Linked DNA regions of Homo sapiens: regions 2, 3, 4, 5 and 6 are each linked to region 1. The links are contacts of gene promoters, found by promoter capture Hi-C in blood cells and fetal thymus (Javierre and others, 2016). All regions are on one chromosome and are shown on one strand. Each heading gives the region's core, a stretch centred on a gene start or on the middle of the fragment in contact. The rest is flanking DNA. Distances are from core to core; before and after follow the strand shown.

Region 1 (3,567 bases), core at 498-2,997:
GACATAAGCTTAACAAGAAAAGGATAGGTTATTATATATAAAGACATAAAAGAAACATAAAAGACAACTTGAATAACCAGAAAGACATGACCATATCTTTGAATGGAAAAACTATGTATTGCAAAAATTTCTTTAAAACAATTTCTATCAAATTCTTAATAAAATATTTTGGTGGGGCAATTTGAGACTCATTTTATCCTTTTACCTGGCAGATTATATTTCTAGAACTCTTTCTGATGGAAGTCATTAGGAATCCAATAATTATATAAGATGTTCCTCTCATTATTTTAACAGTAAAAAGTTGCAAATAACCTATCTAGCTAATGATGGGATTAGTTGTTATTTAACAACCATTAAAACATGTGGTCTTGACGGTGTGTAAAAACGGCAATAAATAACATTAAGTAAGTAAAAACATCTGAATGGAAAACAAAACACAAACTGGCCAAAATGTGGGTTTTTTAAAAGGCTTTTAAACAAATATTAAAAAGAAAATACACCAAAAAGTTAATGTTATCTCTTATTTAGAATTAATTTGACTTTTTCTGTTACAAACAGAAAAAAATATATTTGTGAACGATATCCTGGCACACAGTTCAATCATTAGTCATGCTAAGGTGGAAAAAATGGATACAGAAAGACATAATCAGTAGGATCCCAATTATATAAAAAGATACACATATTTTTTTAAAATACATGAAAGAAACACTAAAATATGACCATCTTGGGTAGTGAGGTTATGAGGTGATTTTTATTGTCCTTTATATAAAAGAAAATATTTTGTTATGTATGTTCTGAATTTTCTACAGTAAGCACACAAAACATGAGTACACATAATAAGAAAGGAAAAAAACGTGCTTTTTAACACTGAGTGGGGGGAAGAACCCTTAGAAAACTTCAAAATAGTTTGTTCTTGTTTAGCGTAATTTACTCACTCAGGTCAGAAACTTGGAATCATCGTTGAGACCCAACCTGTCACTCAAATCCTATATCTAATCCGTAAAGTCCTGAATTTTCACCTGCTAAATATACTTTTGATTCGTCCACTTCTCTCCCATACGCTAGGTCACATCGCTCATCTACAGCAGTAGCCTTCTGAGTGGTTTCTCACAATTCCTGCCCTCCTATAATCCAGTCGTCACCAGCAGTTACAGTGATCCTTTCAAAATGTACATCAGATCTTGTCATTCTGCTGCTCTTATGATAAAGCCCCAACTTTGTGTCACGGTGTTCCACACTCTACGATCTGGTCCCTGCCTCTCCTCTTCTGCTACCGCCGCAATGGCCTTCTCTAAGCTCAAGTCACCAACCTTTCTCCCCGATTCTGCCCTATCGGACAGGTAGTTCCCTCTCTCCTTTCATCTCCGCCTGACGCACTCCTCCCTCCCTTCAACTCCATTTGGAGTCCATTTACTACAGCGCCCAGAACCCCGGCACTACGGCTCTTTTTAGTCTGAGGACTAGCTCCTTTTTGGGCCCAATCACAACTCTGAAGAATCCTGCGCCTATCCGCTGCATGTCTCCTCACTAAACTATTTCTTGAGGGGACAGCCTGACTCTATCATTCTCGTGCTGCATTCCCAGGGGCTGGCCTCGTTGCCGCTTGAGAAATACCAACCGCAGCCGTTGTCCCAAAGACACTACTAAAACTGCCCGGACCCTCCCGCTCCCGAGCCTGCCCGTTAGAGCGCAAGGAAAACTCACCATCCGGCCCCCAGTGCGTCTCGGAAGAGCTCCCGCTCCGAAACAAAGCTCACAACTTCCGGAAGCGATGGCCAATCCCCGTCTTCTTCGAGCCAGTTTCCGGATAGGCCGGCTCGGGGTGGCCATCTGTTTCCGGGTCCTGGTAGGAGGGGTGCTTCCGCCCATGGTCCCGCCCATTCTTCCGCCTCCCCAACCTGGGTCCCGTCAACGGACGCGAAGGAGAACAGGGGCTGTATATCACTTCCGGCGAAGGAAATGGAAGAATCTATGGGCTGGGACCGGAAGCTGGGGTCTGGTTTTGAGTCTCGGCTTTGTCTTAACCTGTGTTGGGCGTTGCACCGGGCGACCTCAGTTTCTTCCTGTACAAGGAAAAGTACTGACCAAAATGAGTTCTACATACATTTCCGCTGCTGGAGATTTCTTTGGTTTTTGAGACAGAGTCTTGCTCTGTTACTCAGGCTGGAGTGCTGTGGTGCAATCTCGGCTCACTGCAACCTCCGCGTCCCGGTTCAAGCCATTCTCCTGCCTCAGCCTCCCGAGCAGCTGGGACTACAGGCACCCGCCACCACGCCCCGCTAATTTTTTGTATTTTTAGTAGAGACGGGGTTTCACCGTGTTAGCTAGGATGGTCTGGATCACCTGACCTCGTGATCCACCCGCCTTGGCCTCCCAAGGAGCTGGGATTAGTTCTTTTTCTGGGCCATGTCTCCTGTGACACTTTGGACTTTTGAGTTTAATGCTGGAACAAGTTAAAATTTTGGTAGGTGATTGGGAAGGCATGATTATGTTTTGCAATGTCAGAAGGACATGAGATTTGGGGGTCCAGGGATGGATTGAATATATGTCCCTGCCAAATCTCATGTTGAATTGTCCCCATTTTTGGAGGTGGGACCTGATGGGAGGTGTTTGGGTCATGGAAGTGGATCTCTCATGGCTTGGTGTCTTTGCAATAGTGAGTGAGTGCCAGGAAGATGTGGTTATTTAGAAGTGTGTGGCACCCTCCAACACAGTCTCTTGGTCCAGTTCTCACCATGTGATGTGCCTGCTCTCTCTTCTCCTTCTGCCAATAGTAAAAGCTCCCTGGGGCCTCCTCAGAGGCCAAACAGATGGTGGTACTATGCTTCCTGTACAGCCTGCAGAAACATGAGCCAATTTAACCTCGTTTCTATATAAATTACCCAGTCTCAGGTATTTCTTTGTGGCAATGCAACAGCCTAATTGCAGGGGGCAGGGGCAGGGGGAAGAGGTGGGGAGGCATGACACACTGGGCTAAAACATGAAGAACATTCGGCCAGGTGCGGTGGCTCACGCCTGTAATCCCAACACTTTGGGAGGCCGAGGCAGGCAGATCACCTGAAGTCGGGAGTTCGAGACCAGCTTGACCAACGTGGAGAAACCCCGTCTCTACTAAAAAATAAAAAATTAGCCAGGCATGGTGGCTCATGCCTGTAATGCCAGCTACTCAAGAGACTGAGGCAGGAGAATCACGTGATCTGGGGAGGCAGAGGTTGCCATGAGCTGAGATCGCGCCATTGCACTCCAGCCTGGGCAACAAGAGTGAAACTCCCTCTCAAAAAAAAATAAATAAATAAAAATTAAAATTAAAAAAAATATATATATATATATATACATATATATATGAAGGACATTCTATTTCTGGGAGACACTGGAACAGGGCCCTGGCTGGTCTGGTTAGTCTCTCTCTATCACAGGATGCTACATTCCCAGCACATTCTACAGTTATCCTAGAGAACCACAAGTGAGAAAGGAGAGAGAACTAAATTGGTCCAAGGCCACCTGGAGAACTGTCCTGCAGTCTATGCCCTTAACCCAGATTATACCCTTTAGCAAAGCTAGTCCGTT
Region 2 (3,567 bases), core at 477-2,976, 910 kb after region 1:
TATGTCAGTTTGCCAAGACACACAAAAAATGTTTGCTCTCTCATAAGTTTTACTATGAGAGTTTTTTTTCAACAAATAAAACACTTTAGCTCTCAATGTTTCTAATGTTTTAAGTTAGTGTATGAAATAGTTTTACTGTTTTACATTTCCCTATACAGTTAGTAAGAAAGTTTTAGTGTTTTGACAATTTTTCAAGGTTATAGAACAACTGTAATTTTTCCCATTGGTGTTTAAGATCTCTTTGAATGGTTTCAGCTTGCAGTCATTTTTCAATCCCACACTAATGTGCAATTGGAAGACTGTATTTTAAATGAGGTAAGAGGCAGCTCTCTTCCTTACATCCTCAAACATCATCAATTCATGCATCTGATGTGTCTGGGCATAGTACTAAACAGGCTCTGACCTTATTCTGACCCTATACTCTCCACTTTTGCCAAGAACACTCGCTTAATGAATTCTCCCTGCAAACTGGTTAAAACTGGAACTGGGCCTTGAACCACTCCAAACCACCAAGTTATGCCCAAACTAAAAACCCTCCAAGGACTTCCAATTACACCACTGGAAACAGAATCCAATATCTTTACCCTGGCCCTAAAGTTCTGCTTGTGCCTTCTGCCCAACTCTCCATCCTCACACTAGGCCCTCCCCTGCCCGCACCCCGGGAGATCCACCTCTCACAGATCGGCTTCTCGCTGTGTCTGCCTCTGCGGATGTTCTGTTCCGTGCTGAGCATTCTAGGTTAGGGCCCCTTTACAAGCCCTCATTCACTTTGTCGCGTGATAAACGATTCAATGGTTCTCCCTCTGGCAGGGCCCTATTAAAGATTTCGTGGGCCCTAAGGCACTTTCGTCTTCGTGGACCCCTTCCTCCATTAAAAAAAGATTAAAAGAAGTTAATGGATTTTGTAGGCCCTAAAAATCTCATTTCCCCCTCCTGATGTGAGAAAAAAATCAAAACACTTTCTTTGACTTCATGGGTTCACTTTAAACGAAATGAAAACATTCTCGTGGCCGGGCACGGTGGCTCACGCCTGTAATCGCAGCACTTTAGGAGGCCGAGGCGGGCGGATCACGAGGTCAGGAGTTCGAGAGCAGCCTGGCCAACATAGGGAAACCATGTCTCTACTAAAAATATAAAAAAATTAGCCAGGCGTGGTGGCGGGAGCCTGTAATTCCAGCTTACTCGAGAAGCTGAGGCGGAGAATCACTTGAACCCGGGAGGCGGAGGTTGCAGTGAGCCGAGATCACGCCATTGCACTCCAGCTTGGGCAACAAGGGTGAAACTCCGTCTCAAAAACAAAGCAAAACCAGAAGAAAAAAAATTCTCGTGGCTCCCTGAAGCCTCCGTGGTCCCTCGGCATGGCGCCTACCGTGCCTGGCGGATCAGCAGCCCGGCCCTCGGGCCTGGGGGCCCCGCGGAGGAAGCTCCGGGCCCAGACTCCGCGCAGGCCTGGCCGCCCAGAACAGTATGCGGAGGGATGACTCCGACAGCGATTTCGGAGCCTCTCTCGGCGTCAGTCTTGCGCCGGCACCCGCCACGGCCAGCGCAACCAACACCTGCCTGAGGACTGGCCCGAGCTCGGCCCACGCCCAGCCCAGCCTGCGAAGTGGTGCCGGCTGCTCTCGGGCTGCCCTCCCTCCCCGAGGCGTGGAGAACCGTACCTGTCTTCGGAAGACGGAGGCCCCCTCACCTGGTCCTCCCGGCTCTCAGCGTGCGCCCGCGCGTTCGGAGGCGCCCCCCTCAGGCCGGCGCGGCTGGGCGGGAGGCTCACTGCGGGCAAGGCGGGGCCTGGCTGCCTCAGGGTGCGCTTCAGGTGGCGCTTCAGGAAAACGGTCTCCAAGTCCCTAGATACCCTGAGAACAGTCCTTCTTTGTCCCTTAGGTAGAATTTTGTCTATTTGTTGGAAATGCTGTGCTAAACCTGACATTTTTCTTTTTCTACCCCTTCCCATGAAACATGCCAGTAGCTCCCCCACCGACCGTTTTCTTGGTTTTAACTTTTCCCTTCCACATCATTTCCTTCAGCCAGTCGCTATTTTGTTCACTAAACATCTGTGGTGGGCACGTTATGTGCCACGCATTGTGCTAGGATTGGAGTACAGTGGATGTACAGACAATGGTCACTGCCCTCATGGAAGTTATAGCTGCCTTCACAAAGTTCTTTTAAGTCTTTTCAAACTCCTGTATTCCAAGAGGGTCTGTCGCTCTCTTCATACTCATTCTCGCTTACTTGAGGTTGATTCCCATAGTCCCTTTGACGAACTCCAGATGGGGTAGGAGCGTCCTGGTCCTTAACAGTTGGTTGGTCTGGGTCTTCAACTCTGGTTAAAAAGGAATTCTCTGAATTAGTCCACAGGAGAGGGAAAGATAATGCTAGTTCCAAGCTAGAAATGTACAAGCAGTTTTCCTTGTTTTCTTTATTATTATTATTGTTATTTTCTCAGTTCATTGTCTAGATGCAGGTTGGAGGTGGGGTGGGGCAATATTTCAATGAGTGGCACAGGATAGGTTAGATGTTTCAACAGGAAAAGAGTTGCCTGCTTGTATTCTAGTCCCACTAAACCATTTTGCTCCTATCAACTGTTCCTCAGGTAAGAACAGAACTATTTAACCTATGTCCTTTTTTAAACACTATAATCTGATATTCAATAGAGTTCCTGTGTTTCAGTTTAAAGGGTAGCTTCTCAACAGCTCTTTCCCCCCATATAGTCCAAATTAGCCTTTCTGTCTCTAATCTCCAGATTATCGTTTCCACTGATGTTAGAATTGTCCTTGTAAAAATATTTTGATCATATCATTCTTTGTCTTAAAAATGGCTTATGTTTCCTTTTCGGTTAGAGGGTCCATTATAACTGACCCCACCTACCTTACTAGGCTCAACCCCAGCATTACCTGTCTTACTCCCCTTTGTGTTGCTATACCAGAATACCACAGAACAACTAACTTGTAAATAAAGGAAATGTATTCTTAAATTCTGGAGGGTAGGAATTCCAAGGTTGAGAATCCCACATCTAGTGAGGGCATTTTTTCTGTGTCATCCCATGGCAGAAGGCAGAAGGGCAAGGGGTACAAAAGAGCAAGACAGCAATAGGGAGCTGAACTCACTTTTACAACAAACCCACTCTCTCAATAACTAACTCATTTCCAAGATAATGACATTAATTCATTTATGGGGGCAGAGCCCTTATGGCCTAATCACCTCTTGTTAGGCCCCACCTCTGAACACTATTCCATTGGGTACTAAGTTTCCAGCAAATGAACTTTGGGGGACGCATTCAAACTTGAGCACTAGCCTCACTCCAAACCATACCACCCATTGCTCCTACCTACTATTAATTTCTTTCCGTACCCTCTATAGCATTTATTAAAAATATGCAAAGAACTGTACCAGAAATGGGGACTATGACATAAGAATTGTTTTCTGAGGGTGATAAACTATAATGGTCATGAGAAAGCACCTTGCAGACTTTAAACTACAAGGAGTGTAACTGACCAAGGGCATCAGCTGCTGCCTTAGAAATCTACTGCCACGACTGGGCTCCGTGGTTCACGCCTGTAATCCCAGCAC
Region 3 (3,567 bases), core at 291-2,790, 800 kb after region 1:
GAGTTTGTTGTTGCCATGGGAAGTCCCTTTGCACTGCAGAACACGATCACATCCGGCATTGTTAGCTCTGCTCAGCGTCCAGCCAGAGACCTGGGACTCCCCCAAACCAATGTGGAATACATTCAAACTGATGCAGCTATTGATGTGCGTCCTGATAGGAGAGAAATGACAAATGATGGGGGAGGGGGGAGAGGCTGTGTGGTACAAGCACCAACTGATATATGGTGGATGAGCCTATATAGAGCTTAGGCTGCAAAAATGTGGCCACTTATTCATGGGCTGAGAAAGAAGAGAATTTGGAGAAAGTACCTACATCCTGGTATGCCCCCAGACTTAGAATCCCCAGATCTCTTTCATGTTTTCTCCTTGTCCTACAGTTTGGAAACTCTGGAGGTCCCCTGGTTAACCTGGTGAGTGAGACATCCTTCCTTCCAAGAATCCCTGCCCCAGGTCAGTGTGGGAAGGGTAGGTTTCCCCTAATTCAAGGATGTTTGGTCAAGTTTCTGAGCAGTTCTTTGTTGGCTATCTCTCAATATCCAACCAGATCTCCCCAACACTTGCTGGTACTTTTGTTCGGGTGCCCCCATCCCCTACTATTTGTTTAGGCTAGGGAACTGGGGGCTGTATCCCTGCAGGATGGGGAGGTGATTGGAGTGAACACCATGAAGGTCACAGCTGGAATCTCCTTTGCCATCCCTTCTGATCGTCTTCGAGAGTTTCTGCATCGTGGGGAAAAGAAGAGTGAGCCTGCCTTATGGGGAAACGGGTTCCTTTAATGTGGTGGAAATAGGGGAAGGGCATTCAGTGGGACTTCCTGGAGGGTGGTCTACTGGGAGAAGAGGGCAGGGAAGGAAGGATGTAGCTGGGTGGGGCTCATTTGTCCCTCTGTCACAGATTCCTCCTCCGGAATCAGTGGGTCCCAGCGGCGCTACATTGGGGTGATGATGCTGACCCTGAGTCCCAGGTATGAGCTTTAGGGACAGTGACATGTAATGTGACCAGTGTAATCAGAGGGGGGCACCTCTATTGAGCTTTGTTCTCATTTCTGTCTTTATCTAAGATGAACTGTGTCACACTTGAAATAATCACAAGAGCTGTCTCCCTTCATCATCTTGACTTTCTTATCCCACTCCACTTTGTACACCTGTCACCAGATTGATTTCATCCTGTTACTGCTTTGATTTCAAGCCTTCAATCCATTAACTTGGCATTTAAGGGCCATTTTCCATCTGTCTGTAAATCAACTTTCTAGACCTGGCTGTAATACCTTCCTATATGAATACTCAGCCAACCTGATTTCCTACTCCCATGTTTTTTATTTATGCTGTTCTTGTTTTATATGGTTAATATCAGATCCATCCTTTTAGGCTCAACTTAAGTTCTTTCCCCTTAAAGCTTCTCTTAGTATTCTAGAATGACATTAGTGCTATTGATTTAACACTGTTTGTCATTTGGTGCCCTCATGTGGTGTACATCTTTTATGTACATGTTGCACTTTATTGCTAGAAGACAGAAAGTGAGTTGCCATTGTATTTTGTAGTACCTAGCCCATGTCCTGTCCATATATTTATCAATGTGTTGATGAGAGACTTGAGGTGGAACTCAGGATGGGGAGAATGCCTGGGTTTGGCTAATAGGGTGATCTGTGTACTTTCAGCATCCTTGCTGAACTACAGCTTCGAGAACCAAGCTTTCCCGATGTTCAGCATGGTGTACTCATCCATAAAGTCATCCTGGGCTCCCCTGCACACCGGTGAGGGAGAGGCTGCAGTGTGATATGGGGATGGGCAAGGTGTGCATGTGTCCTTGAACTAGGCTTTGTACTCCTTCCTTTCTCTCTGTCCATTTTTCTCTATAGGGCTGGTCTGCGGCCTGGTGATGTGATTTTGGCCATTGGGGAGCAGATGGTACAAAATGCTGAAGATGTTTATGAAGCTGTTCGAACCCAATCCCAGTTGGCAGTGCAGATCCGGCGGGGACGAGAAACACTGACCTTATATGTGACCCCTGAGGTCACAGAATGAATAGATCACCAAGAGTATGAGGCTCCTGCTCTGATTTCCTCCTTGCCTTTCTGGCTGAGGTTCTGAGGGCACCGAGACAGAGGGTTAAATGAACCAGTGGGGGCAGGTCCCTCCAACCACCAGCACTGACTCCTGGGCTCTGAAGAATCACAGAAACACTTTTTATATAAAATAAAATTATACCTAGCAACATATTATAGTAAAAAATGAGGTGGGAGGGCTGGATCTTTTCCCCCACCAAAAGGCTAGAGGTAAAGCTGTATCCCCCTAAACTTAGGGGAGATACTGGAGCTGACCATCCTGACCTCCTATTAAAGAAAATGAGCTGCTGCCATCTTTTGTGGGCAGTTAGTCAGGTGCTGCTCTTTGTGGTGTGGTGGGCTCTGGTCTGTTCTGCTCGGTGCTGGGCCTGGGAGCAAAGATTCCCATGCTTGGCTACAGATACTGACAGCTGGCCTCTGAAGGAGGGTGAAAACTTCTGCTTGACAGTTCCACATCCATAGTGCATGGTCTGATGAGTGCGGTTGCTGACATGGGTTTCTTGGTAAGCTCCTGAGGTAATGGCAGCCTCAGACCCCTGCCATTAGGGGCCAGTGGTGGTTTGCAGAGGGCAGTGGCACTTAGATAATCTGGTTGCTGGTCTGGCCAGGGTAGCGTTCAAACCTCCTGTTGGCCTCTTCACTGAAGGCATCACCTGCAGAGTGGACAGGCAATTTGGGAGGCGCCCTGCACAGAGGGAGGGAGATAGATGCACTGTGGAGAAGGGTGGGTAGAAGTGGAGGGACTGAGAGCTCTACAGGAAGGTGGGAAGATGGAGAAACAAGCTATGGAAAAGAGAATGAACGTCTTTCCCTCCCATCCCCTAATCTTCCTGGGTTGCTCTTCCCATCAAATACCAATGTGGCAGTTGTGCACCCAGATTCTATGTCCATCATATTTGCAGTTACATTTCATTGCATTGTTGGTAAAGTCACTCTCTGCTACTTCAAAGTTTGGGTTGATGACAACCTGTGAGTGAGAAAAAGGCCACTTAACCCAGCGACAATCCTCGAATTCAAAGGTGTCTTTAACGCTCCCCCCACTCACCCATCTGGAAGCCCCAGACTCCAGGTACCTGGAGAATGTAGTTTCCTGGCTTCACATCCGTGATGTCAATCCACTGACAGTCAATGTCATGCCGGTAGAGATCCCAGCAACCCACAGTGATGCCTTGCTCTCCAAAGTTGGCACACTCATACCGCTTGGAGACATCTGGAGGGATTGGCATATGTCAGTGTAAGGAAAGGCTGTGCAATGGATACCATGTGGTTCACTTCAGTCCCCAACTCACCCTCCTGACACTCAGTGTCTTCGAGACAGAAACTAGCTTTGTGGCCCTCAGCCACCTTGGTGCCATTTGGGGTGAGGATATCATAGTGAGTGAAGATGTCCATGCTGTGGTAATGCCTGTGGGGAGAAGGGAACTTCTGTTTCCTTCTCTGCCCCCAGAAGGTTTGCCCCATCCCCCGTGGTCTTGCCCTTCTACTTGACTCCCTACCCTCTC
Region 4 (3,567 bases), core at 412-2,911, 780 kb after region 1:
ATTTATGGTTCACCTCCTCTAGATATAAGGCTTCAGAGAACACTGAAGGGCTGGTGGACAGAGCTCACCCTTCTTTCTCTTCTTTATCTTTCTGCCCAGATGCCCAAATATCATTCCTGGTTCCCAGGGGAGAAAAGACCCCTTCACCCTGCCCCAGGCGCCAGGCTGCCAGCCCATCTGCTGGGGAGAAAGGAGGGGGCAGAGTCTTTCCCAGGGGATCCTGGAGAATCAGTTTGAAGATCAGTGCTCCCAGGGAGATCCAGCTAGTAGACTTACAAAGCATTTCGGTTCACACGGGAACCAGCAGGATGGAGCTGAACAGCGGGGTGGGCTCGGGACGAGGGTAGAGGGCTGGCACAGCAGGGTAAGGTCCTTTGGCCACCACGTGTCAGAGGTAGGCTGAGCTGCTCGTTGGTGCCCACCCGCCACCGCCACCGCAGGATGGTAGAAGCGCCCCCCTCTCTGAGCCCAGTCTCACCGGCTCAGAGGCGCCAGGGCCCCCCCGGGGGCCGGGGCGGGCCGGGGAAGGTAATGTAATTCCGGCCCAGCTAACCCGATTACCGCGGCCTGCACCGGGCAGGGCGGCGGCGGGGGCGGGTCTAAGGCTCAGGGGCCCGCCCGCGGGGGTCCCATCCCCGGGAAGGACGCAGAGTTCACGCACTCCCGGCTCCTGGATTCATGGCCAGAGGTCACAAGGTCACCAAGCGGCTTAGGTCTTTCCCCACCTCCCTTCTCTGACAGCTCCAGGCCATTTTTTGAGTTTGGGTGGGGTAAAATGTTTATGGGAAACAAGGCGGCCAGGATCCAACCAAGGCCTCAGTGAGGTCCCACGTGTCCCCCGTGGCGAGATTTCGCCCTCCCGCCGTTGAGGAGGAAGAGTGTGAGAACAGACTTCCTAGGCACAGAATGGAGGGGCAGAGTCCTGCATTGAGGACTCCCTGCACTTGGGGTCCGGGGGTAAGTGCCAGCCCCAAGAACCCGCCGGCCTGATTTGGCCCGGGTTGAGCCATGGTCCGTTTTACACGGATTTTGGAAAATCGAAATTCTAGGAAACACAGGACACCAATTACCGGTGCGCATGAACAGGGCTGGGGGGACCTACAGGAGAGGCCAGAAGGCGCACCACGATCGCCAGCCCAAAGCGGCCGTTCCCCGCCCTTAGCCCCTGCCGTCCCCTTCCCACACCTGTTCTCTTCCTGGGCCTGCAGCTCACCGGGCGCCGTTCCCCAGCCGCTTCTTACGCAGCCGGGAAACCACAACGAGATTTGGTCTTCGAGAGCATTTAGGCGGGGACCACAACGAATCCGGGAGTTGGCCAGAAGGATCCATCGAGAGGCGAAGAGTGGGGGCTGGGGGAGGAGGCACCTGCGGAGGAAGCCGGTGAGGCGGAGGCAGCCCAAAGGCGGAGGCCGCCCAAAGGCGGAGGCCAGCAAGGATGGAGGCGCGGTGAGCATCTCCGCTGACTCAGCGGCCCATGCTCGGGCCCCTCCCGCGCTGAGCCTGGCTCCTAACACCCTGGCCCCCTGTCCCCCTCCCCGCACATCTCCGCCAGCCAGCCTTCCCCCTGCGCTTGGCGCAAACAGGCGTCCCTTCCCCTTTAACTGCTGGGCCCCGCCCCTGCCCTACCCCCAGCCCCCACTACCCACCCGGGCCGATCCGTCAGTCACTGCCCCAGCCGGAGCTGGCCAACCCTCTCCACCCGGGACTTGGGCAGCGGCGCCGGCAGCCCAGCGTCTATTTGCGCTTAAGAGCCAGCAAGGAAGCTCCAGGGGCCCCAGCTGGCCGTGCTCCCCCGGGATGCAAGTCCCTGCGCTGACGCCCGGCAGCGGCTGGCACGGGCGCGGCTGCTCCGGGTGCACAGGGATGCTGCTGTTTCGGGGACCCCGGCGCCCTGCCTTGGCCAGCCCCGCGGGCCCCTGAGGCCACTCTCCGGAGCGCGCCGCCGCTGGGCTTCTGGCGCTGCCTGAGGCATCCTCCCCAACCACCGAACCTCCGGCGGTTCTCCTCGGCCCAGACCGATGGAGCCGGGGATGCTGGGTCCACACAACCTCCCACACCACGAGCCAATCAGCTTCGGCATCGATCAGATCCTGAGCGGCCCCGAAACCCCAGGGGGCGGTCTAGGCCTGGGTCGCGGGGGCCAGGGTCATGGGGAGAATGGGGCGTTCTCGGGTGGATACCACGGAGCCTCGGGCTACGGTCCCGCCGGCTCACTTGCCCCGCTGCCCGGCAGCTCCGGAGTGGGCCCAGGCGGCGTGATCCGCGTCCCTGCGCACCGCCCGCTGCCTGTGCCGCCGCCCGCTGGGGGGGCGCCTGCAGTGCCTGGGCCCTCGGGTTTGGGCGGCGCCGGAGGCCTAGCGGGACTCACCTTCCCCTGGATGGACAGCGGCCGCCGCTTTGCCAAGGACCGGCTCACGGGTGAGGTTGTCTGACCCCTCCAGCGTCACGCCCGACTCTGACCCCGTCTCCTCATTTCTTAGCTTTCTGCTCCAACTCAAGGACCCCTTTCACACCTCCCACTAGATCCTCCCAGGGGATCCTCCCCCAACTCAAATCTCTGGGTCCTGCCTCCGAGAGGTGATGGGGAGGGAGCTGCCGTCGGTGCCCGCGCCCTCCTCTGTAGTCCCACTGTCCACGCGTGGGGAGGGGAGGGTGAAGTTACAGGGGACGTCTCCCTCGCATCCCAGGGGAAGGGCCTTTCTTGGCTATAGGGCTCGGCTGATGCTTAGGGCCCGGGTAAGGACAGGGCGCGGGAGTTCTGCGGCCTGGACAGCCGCGCGGCCTTCTCAGTGGCACCTCGGGCCACCCTGCAAATCCTGCCCTGGTCTTTCTTCCTCCCGGTAGCTGCGCTCTCGCCCTTCTCTGGGACGCGCCGCATAGGCCACCCCTACCAAAACCGGACCCCTCCGAAGCGGAAGAAGCCGCGCACGTCCTTCTCCCGCTCACAGGTGCTGGAGTTGGAGCGGCGCTTCCTGCGCCAGAAGTACCTGGCCTCTGCGGAGAGGGCGGCGCTGGCCAAGGCCTTGCGCATGACCGACGCACAGGTCAAAACGTGGTTCCAGAACCGACGCACCAAGTGGCGGTGAGGCGCGGCGCGGGCGAGGGCGGACTGGGGTTCCCGAGCAGGGCCTGGTGAGAAGCGACGCGGCGGGCGCCCCGCTGACCCCGCGTCTCCCTCCCTTAGGCGCCAGACGGCGGAGGAGCGCGAGGCCGAGCGGCACCGCGCGGGCCGGCTGCTCCTGCATCTGCAGCAGGACGCGTTGCCACGGCCGCTGCGGCCGCCGCTGCCCCCGGACCCTCTCTGCCTGCACAACTCGTCGCTCTTCGCGCTGCAGAACCTGCAGCCCTGGGCCGAGGACAACAAAGTGGCTTCAGTGTCCGGGCTCGCCTCGGTGGTGTGAGCGACGCCCGTCCGATCGGCGTGGAGCGCCGGGCCCGGAGCGGTGGAGCGCGCGGCTGCCTGCGTCCATGGTCTAGTGGCAGCCGGGCGCGTGAGGAGCGGCAGGCCTTGAGGCTGTCGTCGAGGGCTCCTCCACCACCGGCCGGCTCCCAAGCCAGCGTTGCGCA
Region 5 (3,567 bases), core at 560-3,059, 750 kb after region 1:
CAGGCAGGAGGATCGCTTGAGCCTAGGTGTTTGGGTCTAGCCTGGGCAACACAGCAAGACCCTGTCTCAGAAACAAACAAAAAATAGTCGGCCGGGCACAGGGGCTCACACCTGCAATCCCAGCACTTTGGGAGGCTGAGGCGGGTGGATCACTTGAGGTCAAGAGTTCAAGACAACTTGGCCAACATGGTGAAACCGCCTCTCTACTAAAAATACAAATGGTATTGTGGCGTGTGCCTGTAATCCCAGCTACTTGGGAGGGTGAGGCAGGAGAATCGCTTGAACACGGGAGGCAGAGGTTGCAGTGAGTTGAGATCATACCACTGCACTCCAGCCTGGGTGACAGAGCAAGAATCCACCTCAAAAGAAAAAATAACCTCAGATGCAAGTGGCTCCACTCCAGCACAATGCCCTTTGGAATTCCATGCTGCCTGGCCAATGAGGAGAGCAATAGAAAGCAATCAATAACAAGTTTCTAAATTGTGTAACACAGATAATGTGGTTGCAGGTTAGTTGGAGGAGGCAGAGATAATTGGAGATGAAAGGGTCTGGGAAGGCTTTGAAGGGAGATAGAATTTGAACTGGACCTTGAAGGTGAGGCAAGATGTGAGAAAGAAGCTCAAGAGTTAGGAGGGATTGGAGAGCAGCTGGGGGAAGGCCCCAAGGCTGGAGGGAGCCTGGTGGTGGGAGGGAGGACAGCAGTGAAGCAGGGGAGGATTAAAAGGAGGGCTGGAAAGGTCAGCCTGGGAGCCTTTTGGAAGGCTCTGAATCGTAGGCTGAGGAATTAGGTTCAACTCTGCCTATGGCCTTGGCAGTGGGGGATTATTGGATGTCCCTGAGTAGGGAAGTAATTTCTTAGAGCTTAGTTTTGTGGAGAAACAGATGAGGTGCAGAGGAGCGGCCAGCCAGGAGCTGCTGTACTTGTTTAGGTGTGAGCTAGCCTCAGGGTGGGTTATGTGGAGCTGTTCATACTGCAGATATGACAGGGGGCCTAGCTGGAAGAGCAGGTGGGAGGGCTTCATTCCAGGGGCCTCAGTGTGGCTAACTCAGGTTGAGGAGAGAAGATCCTGGATGGTAGAGGAGGCCAGGTTGAATACCATACTCAACCCTTGGGAAGGCAGGAAAGCAGCGAGGGGAGGTGATTCACTACAATAGCTGGGGGCAGCAGATTTTGCGGTGCTGAGGAGGGAGAGGTCAGAGCCAGTGAGAGTCTCTGGGCTGGATAGCTGGTTGGTGGCTGCCATGGTGGAGAGATCAAGCCAGCGAAGCCCTTGCTCTCTCCAGGAACTGCCCCCAACACCAGCCTCCCCTCCCCTCCCCTCCCCTCCCAGGACATAGTGGATTTTCTTCGACGGCTTGTGGAGAGTGATCCCCAGGGCCTGCACCGGATCCATGTGGATGGGAGCAGCGGGCGGCTGCAGCTGTGGCACCATGGTGGGGAGTGCAGGGACCGGGCCCAGGGATCGAGGCTGGTACCCTGGGAGGGCTGACCCTCAGATGCACCCCGCTCTCATGTCCTTTCTTTCCTGTCTCTTTCTCCCTCCTGACAGATTACCTCCTGGGCCACTTGGATGATGAAGGGAAATCAACTGGACAGAGTGACAGGGGCAAGGGGGCTGAGGGACTGGGCACCTACTGTGGTCTCCGCAAGTCCTTCCTGTATCCTCCCCAAGAGTCTGAGCCCTGCCCTCAAAGCCCCTCTGCCTCTGCCACCTTCCCCAGTGTCTCAGACAGCCTGCTTCAGGTGGCCATGCCCCAGAAGCTCCTGGTGACAGAAGAGGTGAGATTCTCAGGAGAGGGCTTTGCCGTCCCCCAGGGTTCTTTCAATCCCTGTATCCCCATCCCTATATTCTCCCCTAATTGGTACCTTTCAAGATCCTTCTATACTGCCTGCCCCCTTTCATGTTTGCTCTCCATTTCCCTGTTTCTCTCTTTTTCTGTCACCTGCCCTTCGTCCTTCAGGAAGCCAATCGCCTGGCTGAGGAGCTGGTGGCTGAGGAGGAGCGCATGAAACAGAAAGCAGAGAAAAAGCGACTCAAGAAGAAGGTGGCTAGAGCATGGCTGGAGGGTGCAGGGGAGCCAAAGGGATTTGGGAGAGGGAAAGAGGAAACTTTGTGGGAACAGGAGAGAGCTCAAGATGGCCTGCAGTGGACTCTCTTGCCAGGAGGACACAAGGGGCCCAGGGACTGGGGGGTCTCTCACAGGCCATCTGGTGCAGTGGTTCTGGAATCCTACTGTGCTGCCTAGGTAGGAATCTGCCTCCTTACATGAGGCCTCTTGCTGGTGCCTCTCTTGTCTGCTTTTTCACCTGCAAAATGAGGATAATAATGATGCCTGTCTCATAGAGCTGCAAAGATGGAATGCGAAATCTTAGCCCAGCACACGACATACAGTAAGTGTTCAAAATACATCATTGTTACCATTACTATTGCAGCGTCAAAAGGAACGGAAGCGACAGGAGCGTTTGGAGCAGTACTGTGGGGAGCCCAAGGTGAGTATCTAGGGCAGGTACTAAGAGCACCAAGTGCCAGGAAGGTGAGGGCCAAGAAAGCAGGCAGCTCAAGGTGATCCCAACTCTGTACCTGTCTATCTTTCTTCCAGGCCAGCACTACCTCAGATGGAGATGAGAGCCCCCCATCCAGCCCTGGAAACCCAGTTCAGGGACAGTGTGGTGAAGAAGAGGTGAGAGCCCCTTTTTTCCCTTCTTGGTCTCTGCTCATTTTCCTCCTCCTCCTCCAGAATGTACTTCATCCCCACCCCCTCCCTAACTTTCCATTTTGTTCACAGGACTCACTGGATCTATCTAGCACTTTTGTGTCTCTGGCTTTGCGCAAGGTTGGGGATTGGCCCCTCAGTGCCCGCAGAGAGAAGGGACTGAACCAGGAGCCCCAAGGCAGGGGTCTGGCCCTCCAGAAGATGGGTCAAGAGGAAGAGAGCCCTCCAAGAGAGGAGAGGCCCCAGCAGAGTCCAAAGGTACAGGTGAGGTGGCTGAAGAACCTTATTCAGCTGGAACCGTGGAAGGGGCACAAGGAGCTGCTGGGGAGGCACAGGGTCTAAGGATTGACACAGGGTCCAGTGGGAGTTCTCTGGCTCTAGGGTCAAGAGACCTACAGTCAGGCCCCATCACTGTCACCATGACCCCGGGTGGTTTCCTGTCTAGGAAGATAGGGCTGATACCATCTTGTAGGGCTGTCATGAGGATTACATGAGTTGGGTAATGCTAATTGCAGTGTTACCTGTTTAAACAAAGGAGAAGGATTTGGGGAGGCTGAGACCTCAAGACCTGCTTGACTTTGCACCCTATCCCCAGGCATCTCCGGGACTGCTGGCAGCTGCCTTACAACAGAGCCAGGAACTGGCAAGTGAGATCCTTTCTCTCTCCGTCCTCACCCCACCCTCCCTGGGGTAGCCCCATCTGAACCTTCTCACCCTCTTTCCTTTCCAGAGTTGGGTACCAGCTTTGCTCAAAATGGTTTCTACCATGAGGCCGTGGTCCTCTTCACCCAGGCCTTGAAGCTCAACCCCCAGGACCACCGGTAGGTGGGGGCTTGGCCAGGGCAGGGCAGA
Region 6 (3,567 bases), core at 773-3,272, 630 kb after region 1:
AGGAGCTAGCCAACTAATCTAAACTGGGGCTAATATCTACAATGCTGGGGTGCTGTTTACCAGCCTAATGAGTCCCAACTCTGCAAGTATTTTCAGTAGGTCTGGGTCAAGACCAGAAATCTGTTACATTTTAAAAGAAACTCCCCAGGTGATACTAATTTATGGTGGGGTTTGGGAGTAGCTTTTGTACCTCCTATCCTTTACTAGTATGCCACTTTAGTTTTCCCTTATTTAGTAAATATTCCCTCTGAGAGACCCCAGGTCTTATGGGAAGACTGGCCAGTACATCAGAAAATTGGCTGGGGTGGTGATCATATCATTACTCCAGCTCCAAAAATTGGACTAAAGAGCAGTGGAAGCTACAGGAAGCAGAGGCAGGGTTGGCAGAGGCTACACCCTCCCAGCCCTCCTGACTCCATAAATGAACTTAGGTACCTAGTCCTAAGTCTAGCCCTTTCCTCCTTGGTTAGAGTAACTTACTGCACATGAATTTTAGAAACAGCATTCTTCTGGTCACTACGAAGAGGAGACCTCAAATTTGATACAGCCAAAGCTTCCTCAGCATCGCTTCTCCTCCACTCCTGCTGTGAGCTTAATGGCCCAAGTCCCACTCTCAACACCACACAGGAAGCACTGAAGCAGAAGTTGCTTTAATCAAGGGGTGAAGTCCTCAATCAAGGGGACCTCACTTAACCTTTGGTGGTGGGGTCTCAGCCTACCCCCCACAAGCCCTGAGGCCCCTCAGGAAGGAGGGAGCAGTTGAACAACAAATTATGGCAGAGGCCAGGGAATGGGAGTGGGGGAACCCGGGTCAAGGTGAAGGGGCAGGACGCTGAAAGGGTGGGAGTGAAGCTGAACGGGGCAGGAAGAGCTTAACCCACGTTTCTACCTGGGGGCTGGCTGAGGTGGCTGTGCATCGGGCAGAGCGGCACCAGAGGGCTGAGGGTCGAAGGGGACAGCAGGGGAAAGGAGTGCTTAGGAGATGAGGCGACTGTGAAGCTGGTGCAGCTGCTCCTGGGTCAGCACCAGCCGGTGTCGCTGTCCAAAACCAGCCGCACATGAGAAGGTCACTTTGCCCATGTAGACTGTGTCATCCTGCTGCTCCTCCTTGGCCTGGTGGTTGATGAGGAGAAAAAGACTCCAGGTCAGGGGCTCACTTGAGCTGTGGGCCACTGAAGGGGTCCCTGAGCACTGAGACCAAGGCAGCTCCTGGGTGACTAGGGCTTCTGAGATCCTGGGCTATTGTGACCACATTTTTCAAATAAGAATGGGGATACATAATCTGACAAGGGAGTTTTGAGGCCCTCCTGGTGTCAAAAGTCACGGAAGGTGTTTAGGTGCTAAAATATTGGAATTTCAAAGCACTGTAAGCACTTCTGAGTTACTTGTAAGTAAAATTTGGCCAGATAACCCAAGGTATGCAGTTGTTAGACCTGAGACTCCAAAGGCCTCCTCCAATTCTGGAGGAGAGGGGGGCCCGCCTGAGCTCTCCACACTGTCCCATCCTCCACCCCATGCTCCCCCTCACCCTGAGGAAGGCTGATGAAGGGAAGGTGGCAAAGTCAGTGGGTACTGTGGCTCCAGGGCGCTGAGATACTGTCTCCTTGAGGACCTCATCCTAGGGAAGGGGAGAGGAAGACAAGGGTTCATTTATGGGACCCCCACAGGCTAGCACAAGACCACGTGGTTTCACAGAGACACTAATACCAGGGGGGCAGGGACTTAGTCCTCTATATCAACATACTTTTGCTCTCATCTCCAACCCCATCCCCACACCAGCACTCCTCCTTACTTTGCAAGTCCTCATCCTGTAAGGCCCAACTCACATTCTACCGCTCTTGGGAAGCCATGCCCAACCGTTCTACCCCACAATGATCTCAGCGCTGATGGAAGCTAAAGCCTGAACCAGTCACTCTAAAGATTACCCTAGCTTATCCATTTTGTTATGAGAATCTGTCTTCTGTTTGCACTGAGACAGTGAGCTTCCAAGGCAAGAACCCTGCCTTCCCTTCCATCTCCTCCCCAATTGCTGTCTAGCACAGGGCTGGGCTCAGAGGAACTCCACAAGTGCCTGGCTCCACCAGTTTATGCTGTGAAGTGAGCTCTGCCTGGCAAACTGAGCTGACCTTGAGCTTCTCGACGGTGTCACTCAGGGACTTAAGCTGAGCCACTTGCTCCATAAGTTGGGCCGACGGGCTCTTGGCAGCTGTGGGGAGAGAAAGCTGGTGAGGCCCACCAAGGCGCAGGCAGGCAGTTCTACTGGATTAAGGGTTAGGGGTGCAGGTATAAGACTCTCTAACAGAACAAGTACTTGAGAGAGAGTGGGTGAATCAAACAAACTGAACAGTGAAGCCAAAGAACACTGCTGGGAAGAGCTTCTGTGGTGGGGGAACCACCTGAGCAGGGGCTAAATCCCTGGGCCAAGTGGAGGGGGCAGTTTTATTCATCTTGGGGGTTGGCAGGTACATACCAGGGCTGGTGCGAGTGATGTCTACTACGTGCGTGTGTGTGCTCAATTGATTCAATGTCTCCAGCAGCTGGCTGGTCTTACGATACAGCGCTCCAGCTGGTAACTCACTGCCAGGGCCCTCATGGGATAGCTTTGCAACATGCAGAGGGGGCAGGGATGCCAAGGATGCCTTCATCTGGGCTCCCTGTGGATGAAAAAAGAAGGATAGTGGTAAGAGGTGCTAGGAGGCCCCTGTCATCTATCATCAATGGGGCAAATATGCTCCATCTCCCATCCCAGTCCTCCCCGTGGCTCCCTCACCTTGAGGATGCTGTTCTCATGCTGGAGCTGGGAGATGTGCAGCCTCATGGCAGAGATCTGCTGAAGCAGCAGTGGTGAGTCCTTCACCAGCCCTGGGCCTGGCACAGACCCTGGAGCCTGCCCAGGGATGGCTCCTGTGGGGACCATAAAAAATCTCATCAGCCCCAAGTGGAAAGGGTTGAAAATTGGGCTCCATTCCTACTCTTCCCCTTTCCTCATCCCCCCATCACCCATCTCCAGTCCTGGCTTCCCCCTCCACCCTGCTCCCTTAGCTCCAACTCCCACCAGCCTGGTAACCCCCGGCCAGAGTGGGTCTCTACCTCGCTGCTGTTCTTCTGTGCTCGGGATAGCCCATGGGGGAGCAGGAAAAGAGGAGAGAGGAGTTAGGTGATTTGGGGGTTACGGGGACACACCAGAGGAATCCTGGACACAACCTGCAGGAAAACCCTTTTCCTAATCATCATACTTTCTCTAACAAGACTCTCTGCCACCTATCTTTGGGGACGAGCAGATAAGTGTTAAAGAAAGACACCAAACAGGAGTGAGGCCACAAGACAGGGTACAATGTGTGAAGAACAGTGGCAAAGAGAGTGTGCACTGTACAAAGTACTTGGAACATGAGGCTGTTCCTGCCTCCCTGTCTCAGATGCCATCTCCAAGAAGGGCACGGAGAATGCTCCAGAGACCCCAATATGTCTGCACCCTTAGTGCTCACCAGCAGCAAAGCTTAAGTTGGGGATGCAAACACACTCCCTTGCTCCTAAGGATTCCCCATTGCTCTGAGGCAAAAGACCTTC

The links. The method cuts DNA at HindIII sites, captures the fragments that hold promoters and counts their contacts. A CHiCAGO score of 5 or more calls a contact.
Region 2: a contact is called between the fragment with the promoter of M1AP here and the fragment with the promoter of TPRKB in region 1, in 1 of 17 cell types (activated CD4 T cells). The highest score is 6.1, in activated CD4 T cells.
Region 3: a fragment that was not itself captured here is called in contact with the fragment with the promoter of TPRKB in region 1 in 1 of 17 cell types (non-activated CD4 T cells); the score reaches 6.3 in non-activated CD4 T cells.
Region 4: a contact is called between the fragment with the promoter of TLX2 here and the fragment with the promoter of TPRKB in region 1, in 1 of 17 cell types (neutrophils). The highest score is 6.6, in neutrophils.
Region 5: a contact is called between a fragment that was not itself captured here and the fragment with the promoter of TPRKB in region 1, in 1 of 17 cell types (neutrophils). The highest score is 8.8, in neutrophils.
Region 6: a contact is called between a fragment that was not itself captured here and the fragment with the promoter of TPRKB in region 1, in 1 of 17 cell types (erythroblasts). The highest score is 5.8, in erythroblasts.

The regions. Positions count from the first base shown.
Region 1 is chr2:73,735,598-73,739,164 of GRCh38, forward strand. TPRKB (TP53RK binding protein) reads right to left here and starts at 1,748. Exons shown (of 5, transcript NM_016058.5): 1 at 1,705-1,748. RefSeq lists enhancers at 2,010-2,089, 2,130-2,189. The HindIII fragment of the contact is 15,665 bases long and covers 7-3,567 here.
Region 2 is chr2:74,646,604-74,650,170 of GRCh38, forward strand. It overlaps M1AP (meiosis 1 associated protein), which reads right to left and starts at 1,727. Exons shown (of 11, transcript NM_001321739.2): 1 at 1,662-1,727. The HindIII fragment of the contact is 10,572 bases long and covers 1-3,567 here.
Region 3 is chr2:74,530,962-74,534,528 of GRCh38, forward strand. It overlaps HTRA2 (HtrA serine peptidase 2), which reads left to right. Exons shown (of 8, transcript NM_013247.5): 3 at 1-144; 4 at 378-410; 5 at 636-741; 6 at 895-964; 7 at 1,658-1,753; 8 at 1,859-2,358. The coding sequence ends at 2,024. It overlaps LOXL3 (lysyl oxidase like 3), which reads right to left. Exons shown (of 14, transcript NM_032603.5): 11 at 3,355-3,470; 12 at 3,139-3,275; 13 at 2,921-3,032; 14 at 1,297-2,718. The coding sequence ends at 2,645. Among named protein-coding and RNA genes, the nearest start is that of HTRA2, 2.8 kb to the left of the region's middle. RefSeq lists an enhancer at 1-78. The HindIII fragment of the contact is 295 bases long and covers 1,394-1,688 here.
Region 4 is chr2:74,512,789-74,516,355 of GRCh38, forward strand. TLX2 (T cell leukemia homeobox 2) reads left to right here and starts at 1,662. Exons shown (of 3, transcript NM_016170.5): 1 at 1,662-2,418; 2 at 2,845-3,082; 3 at 3,185-3,567. The coding sequence starts at 2,019. The coding sequence ends at 3,401. RefSeq lists enhancers at 1-648, 2,898-3,399, 3,400-3,567 and silencers at 523-582, 1,620-1,719, 2,300-2,369. The HindIII fragment of the contact is 6,557 bases long and covers 1-3,567 here.
Region 5 is chr2:74,488,694-74,492,260 of GRCh38, forward strand. TTC31 (tetratricopeptide repeat domain 31) reads left to right here. Exons shown (of 13, transcript NM_022492.6): 3 at 1,332-1,434; 4 at 1,551-1,780; 5 at 1,963-2,046; 6 at 2,435-2,491; 7 at 2,602-2,682; 8 at 2,788-2,979; 9 at 3,311-3,362; 10 at 3,446-3,536. Among named protein-coding and RNA genes, the nearest start is that of TTC31, 7.4 kb to the left of the region's middle. The HindIII fragment of the contact is 4,043 bases long and covers 1-3,567 here.
Region 6 is chr2:74,360,524-74,364,090 of GRCh38, forward strand. DCTN1 (dynactin subunit 1) reads right to left here. Exons shown (of 32, transcript NM_004082.5): 27 at 3,091-3,105; 28 at 2,771-2,904; 29 at 2,471-2,654; 30 at 2,127-2,206; 31 at 1,529-1,618; 32 at 632-1,113. The coding sequence ends at 976. Among named protein-coding and RNA genes, the nearest start is that of DCTN1, 18 kb to the right of the region's middle. The HindIII fragment of the contact is 2,943 bases long and covers 552-3,494 here.